Regions from separate parts of the Homo sapiens genome. Here region 2 is linked to region 1. The links are contacts of gene promoters, found by promoter capture Hi-C in blood cells and fetal thymus (Javierre and others, 2016). All regions are on one chromosome and are shown on one strand. The core of a region is centred on a gene start or on the middle of the fragment in contact, and the rest is flanking DNA. Distances in the headings are between cores, read along the strand shown. Region 1 holds the start of TFAP2C (transcription factor AP-2 gamma). Region 2 has its middle 190 kb from the start of BMP7-AS1.

Region 1 (3,033 bases), core at 170-2,669:
TTGGAGGACGCCTATTATTATTATTTTCTTTTAGGCCCACCTGGGTCTAAATAAATGCTAAAGTTCAAACGAACCCGAGAAGGAACAGCGAGGCAGTGGATGCCGCCATTCCGTGGATGGGAGAGTCATGTCTACTGCAGGTGCGGACACCGTACTGATAGGCATTGATTATTGCAAAATCGTATTCAGTATCAAATAGAAATAGTCTTGTCCTCTAATCCCCACAGAATGTTTAAATCCAGCCCAGGGAGCCAGTTGGGGCGTCCCAACAAATACGCCCTCGAGAATTAGCGATGTTCCCCTTACAATGAAAGTCAATTGCTGCATAATAACTGGGCCAAAGAATTTCGTTAGTTTAAATTTTAAAAATTAGTATTGCACTTTGCTTTCAAGTTTGGGTGGCAAGTACCGAAGGGGAGAGGGAAGCAGCGTTTGTGTGGAAGGAAGTTTCGTTTTCTGTCTAAACATGTGGGACCTGGGTGTCTACCTCTCCAGTCGAGAGCTCTCTGCAGGCTCTCTCCCAACTTCCTGCACCTCCTCACCCTCACCTTACCCGTGGCGCTCGGGTTTTATTCCTGCCCGGCGCTTCTTTCCCAGGGCGAGTAGAGGCTTCTGAGTGACCGGCCCGCCAGAGGCAGCTGCAGAGCCGGCGTTCCGCAGGGCAGGGCAGGGCCGGGCCGCTGGGCTGGTCCAGTGCGCGCGGGTTCCCCCTGGCCTCAGCCAGCCGCGGGAGATGCCACTTCGGGCGACAGCGGCGAGACGCCGCTGTCCGCAACTCCTGGGCGGGTAGGACCGTCTGCTGCCTCTGCGGCCCTTGGGGCAGACTCCCCAGGAGTCCCTTCCTCTCTCCTCCCGCCCGGGGGCCGGGACCGCGCTGTGCCCACGGAGGGAACTGGGCGTCTCTGGCGCACTGGGGCTCCAGCTGCATGATCCCAGCTCAGACCTTAAGCCTCAGTGGGGTGTAGGTGGGATGGGATGTGTTTTTAGGAGATGAGGAGACCCCGGTTGTTGAGTCGCTCCCCAAATGCGCAGTTTCTTAACTCCAGGTGACATCCGTCTTTTGGAGGAACGAGTGAAGGCCGTTTAGGCGAAAGAGGGGTGGGTTTCAGTATTTGGATCCCTTCCCCCAGCTCTGCCAATCTCAGGTGTGTTTACGGTGGAGGTGACAGAAGGAAGGCGCGTCGGGGGACCCAGGCCTCGCAGGTCTTCGGCTGTCAACGAGGCACCGCCCACTGACTCCGCGCTTCGTCCCTCACAGCGTGGGGCTCGGCGCTGCGCCAGGCCCGGGTGCGGGGCGGAGCTAGGCTGGGACTGGCTGGGGGCCGCCCCGCCCGGCGCCTGGGCCTCCGCGCCGGCCCCCGGGGAGGAGTTATGATAATTTCCTTCTCATTAAGGCGCTCGGGTCCCCCGGCTATCGCCAGGACACACTGTTCGGGCGCGGCTTTCCCCGTCCGCGGAGCGGTCTTGACACTCGCGGCGGCAGCATCTACGCTCGCAGAGCCGCCGATGCGTGTCCAGTGACCCGGACAGCAAGGCCCGCGCGCGGCGGGGGCGGCGGCAGACGCCTGGTCACCGTGACCCCGATTTTGGATTTACCGCTTGGGGGCTGGGGGGATCCTGGATTTAACTGGCGACTGTTTTGGGGGACGCCGGACGCCATGTTGTGGAAAATAACCGATAATGTCAAGTACGAAGAGGACTGCGAGGTGAGCTGGGGCTCCGGGGTGCAGCCCCGCCCCGCCGAGGACAGTCCGGGAGGCAGGGGCCACTGGACCGAGGTCGGGGACGAGGGCATAGGAGCCCTGGCCTCTCGGTGGGACGGGATCCACTTCTCCGGACACCCCTTAGTCCATTTCTGCGGGGCCCCTTTCCTGTATAGGGCCTTTTCCTAAATAGCCTCCCCTCGGGAACGAGGCCTGGAAAGAGAATGGCAAATCCCACCCACACAGCTTACCGGGCGCTTTCCTAAGCGGCAAACAGCCCTGCTTCCCGTTTTCTCGGAAAAGTGCCCCGTCTGCAACCCTCAGACGTGGCTTTTACGCACGAAGTCTCTGTCCAAAGGGGTCAGATGAGGCTACCTGCTAGCGACACCTTGGCGGACACTCCTCCAAGGCCGGCTTGTCACCTGCCCCGCTACCTCCTCGGGGAAGCACGAAAACAACCGAAGTTTGGCTTTCAAAAGAAGTGGGGGCTGGGGAGTGGTGGTGGGGGTGCCCGAGGCCAGATGGGGCCGTAAGAGCTCGCGAGTGCTCCAGCCTGTCGGACAGGTTGAGCTAGAGTTTCGGAGAGTGGGAGGGAAGAAGGAGGCGGCGAGCGGGAAGAGGAAGAAGACGCAGGCAGCGCTAGGCGAGCTCAGGGGCGCCGGGAGCGCGGAGCTCGGGCTACGGACTCGCGGGAGTTCACTGCGCCTCCGGGCCCTGGAGGGCTGCCCCTGCCCGCAGGCCCGGGCGCTTCCGCCAGGAGGCGACAGCGCCATGTTCCTCCAGGTTCCCGGCGCCCCGAGACCCCTGGGCAGATGGGGACGCATCCTTTAGAAACTGAGTCGGGCCGCCCAGGGGCGAGGGAACGTGCGCGGGCAAGGCTGCCCAATTTCCAGGGTTCTTCATGCCCCCTCTGCGCCCCGACGTGCGAGAACACTGCCCTTGGCAGTGCAGGGCGCCCCCACTTATTACTCCCCTCGGCTGGGCCCGGCCAGCAGGGAGGGCCGCCCTGTGCGCGCGCTCCCTCTTCACTTCCCAGGGCGGCGCAGGGTGGCGGGCCCTGCTTTCCGAGCGCCGCCCGCTCGGAGGTCTTTGTCCCGAGGGCGTGGAAGGGAGGGTCCCGGGGGCGGGGGAGGTGCGCATTTCCCGCGCCGCGCACTCTATCCGCGCCTGCCGCGCTGCCACCTCCAGCAGTCCCTGCGTCATGGGCGGGCTCCACGAGATAGCTCTGCACCGGGCGTCCGGCTCCTTCGCCCCGGGCTCTGGCTCCTTCGCCCCGGGCTCCGGCCACGGACTTTTCTGGCCCAAGACCCAGGGTTCGGACTTGGCGCCT
Region 2 (3,033 bases), core at 226-2,725, 390 kb after region 1:
TGCTGGGGTTGGCTGCTGGAGGTATCCTGGGAGACCCTCGGGGGCACCCGCCTTGCCACTCCTGGAGCCACCTGACATTTGGGGCTCACCCACATTTGCTGTTGGTAAAGCCAAACTTCTTGCCTCTCAGAAGAGGAAGAGGAAAACAACACATTTAAGAAGCTATTTTTTAAAACAGGCATTTGAGACCTGAAATGGCTCCCCAAGTACCATGGTTTAGGGAGAAAACTATAAATGCGTCAGAAGTATACGGATTAGATTTTCCTCCTGCAAAGCCTCAAAAACAATCGGAAAGGCAACAAACAAAATGCAGCTGGTCTGTCCTCAGCACTCAGCAGCTGAGAAATGCAGTCATTTTCAGAGCCAGTGGCATCCCTATCCCAGATGCTGCCATCATTCATTCATTCATTCATTGATTCAACTAATATTCACAGAGCCCTACTGTGTGCCAACCGCTGGGCCAGGCATCGGGAATATAGAAAGCAAACCAAGCCTCGGCCCCTGTGGGGAGTCCTGTCAGGCTGGGGAGACAGGTGCCGTCCAGGTAAACCCGCGTGCTCCCCTGTGAGCAGTGCTGTGGGGAATCCAGCAGAGGAATTGAGAGATGCTGCGGGGGGCCTGTACTTGGGGGTTTGGCAAAGCTTCTCTGAGAAGGTGACATTTGACATTTATGACTTATGTCCCTTCCGTGCATACTAAAATACAGAGTAGGGTCGGGAGAGATGGCACTGGAAATGAAGGAACCAGCTGGAAAGTCAGCCCAGGGCAGAACATGACTTTCTGGGCGCTTTTTATTAGTGTTTCCTCCCTGCCCTGTCAGAGTGTCGCGTATACTTTTTCAACACCCCCTAAACAAAAACTCCCTTCTGAGATTTTAACATTGGGGCTATCAGATCCCAAGTCAGCTTAGCTGTTTCTTCCTTGCTTGGGTTAGGTGGGTGAGATGGAGGGACAAGGGGCGTGGGCAGAGCAGACCTACTAGGTAGATGGAGGGTGGTCCTGGCTCGTGGGATGCTTTTGTCACCATTGCCCTGGTCCAGGCCTCCCAGCCTGGCCTGAGCTCTCCAGTCCCTCTGCCCCAAGCATCTCCCGACTCTCATGAGAGCCCCGTGGGGCTGGCGCTTTACAGTTTGCACATGTCTCATTGGATCCACACACAAACCATGTAAAGCAGGGGCAATGGCCTCACTTTACCAAGGGGCAAGTGACAACTCAGCCAGGTGAAGTGACTTGCCCAAAGTCACCAAGCCTGCAAGTGGCACAGCCAGGACTCCGACTCGAGACTTCTGCCTCCATGTCTCATGCCCTCCTCACAGTTGCATCCTTCTCTGAAGCGGAGCCCACCGCAGGGTGAGATGTCTGAGGTCTGTGTGCCGGGATGTGCTCAGCCTTTTCCGAATCTCAGCCTGGGTGAGCCGAATTCTTCCAGGGGGCAACCTGCCCGGGAAGTTGGGTCCAGAGCCCTTTACAGCCACGAGGCCAAGGCTGAAGGGACATAGAGGGCAGGTGAGAGGAGGTGACATTTGAAAGAGTCCTGGAAAAGGACATCCAGAGACAGAGACACACACAAGAGTATGGGAAAGTCTCCAGGGGCTGGAGAACCTGCTGCAACTCTCCCTTCTCTCCAGCTTCAGGGCATGTAAATGTCATTCTCGTCCACCTGTTGGTGGAGCCATCCGTCCTTTGAGATGCAGAGTGTGTCTCCCAGGTCTTGCTGGGGTTACGGGGAAGGGCGTGCCTCTCTCTCTCCTGGTCCCCTCTAGCTGGGCTCCCTCTGGTGTCCAACTAAAGCGCCTCTTATTGTCCATATTTGCTGGCCCTCAACTGGCGGCATCTGGCTGTGGAACCCAGACCCTTCCCTTGATTTCCAATTCAGGCTCCCACAAGGCCTCTGTGTTTGCTGCTGTTTACAGTTGATGGCTGAAAATTTAGGCAAAAACAGAGGGTCGCTCTGCTGCAACATGGGTGACTTCAAAAGAAAGAGTGTTCTGCCAAAAATTTATTTGCCATTTCTACCAGTTGGAGCCCCAGCTTCGTCCCCTGTCTCCCTCTCCTGGCTCTTCCCCGCCAGCTTTGTTTCTAAAACAGTTAAATCTAGCTAAGCCTAATCAATTCAAGTGTCTTGTCTTTCTGACACTTTCTTTGGGTACTGGCCTCTTCATCCTTGAATATTTATTGGGGTATTTTCCTAATTCCCAATTATCTACCCTAGAAAAATTCTGACACACCTGCTGGGTTGAGAGAATTTTTCATTCTTCCACATCAGGGGTTGGGGAACTGTTCTGTAATGGGTCATGCAGCAGGCATTTTAAGCTTGTGGTCCATAGAGTCTCACTCCAGCCGGTCAACACGTGCTGCCTTTGTAGGATGAATGCAACTATAAACAATATGGAAATGAATGGATGAGTCTATGTTCCAATAAAACTTTATTTATAAAAACAGGCTGCTGGCCCAGGGGCTAGAGTTTGCAGATCCTTGTTGTACATAATCAGCTACTTAGCTGAGGGGCATGGAAACCACTGAATCACCAGACAGGCCTCTCCTGGACTCCCATGGGGTGCCTCCTACTAGGTGCTGTGGGAGGGTAGAGAACATTTCTTAGAAGTCTGTTCACAATGACCCTGGCTTTGAAGCTGGGATAAGGTAAAGCCAGTGCCCACTTGTGTAGTGGGCTGAACAGTTTCCCTGCAAAATGCATGTCCATCTGCAACCTCAGAATATGGCCTGATTTGGAAATAGGATCGCTGCAGATGTAGATAAGGTAAAGATCAACATGAGATTATACTGGATTTGGGTGGTCTCTAAATCCAATGAGGGTGATCTTCTATAAGACCAAAAAGGACACACAGTGAGACAGAGAAAAGAAGGCCATGTGAAGGCTGAGGCACAGATGGGTATGAGGCGGCCACAAGCCAAGGAATGCCAGGAGCTACTGGGAGCTGGAGGAGGCCAGGAACAGATTCTCCCCTGGAGCCTTCAGAGGGACCGCAGCCCTGCCGACACCTTGCTTTTGGACTTCTGGCCCCAGAAAAC

What was found. The method cuts DNA at HindIII sites, captures the fragments that hold promoters and counts their contacts. A CHiCAGO score of 5 or more calls a contact.
Region 2: a fragment that was not itself captured here is called in contact with the fragment with the promoter of TFAP2C in region 1 in 1 of 17 cell types (fetal thymus); the score reaches 5.0 in fetal thymus.

The regions. Positions count from the first base shown.
Region 1 is chr20:56,627,887-56,630,919 of GRCh38, forward strand. TFAP2C (transcription factor AP-2 gamma) reads left to right here and starts at 1,420. Exons shown (of 7, transcript NM_003222.4): 1 at 1,420-1,706. The coding sequence starts at 1,659. RefSeq lists silencers at 1,331-1,390, 1,447-1,741. The HindIII fragment of the contact is 6,956 bases long and covers 1-3,033 here.
Region 2 is chr20:57,020,773-57,023,805 of GRCh38, forward strand. No RefSeq gene overlaps it. Among named protein-coding and RNA genes, the nearest start is that of BMP7-AS1, 190 kb to the right of the region's middle. The HindIII fragment of the contact is 1,672 bases long and covers 640-2,311 here.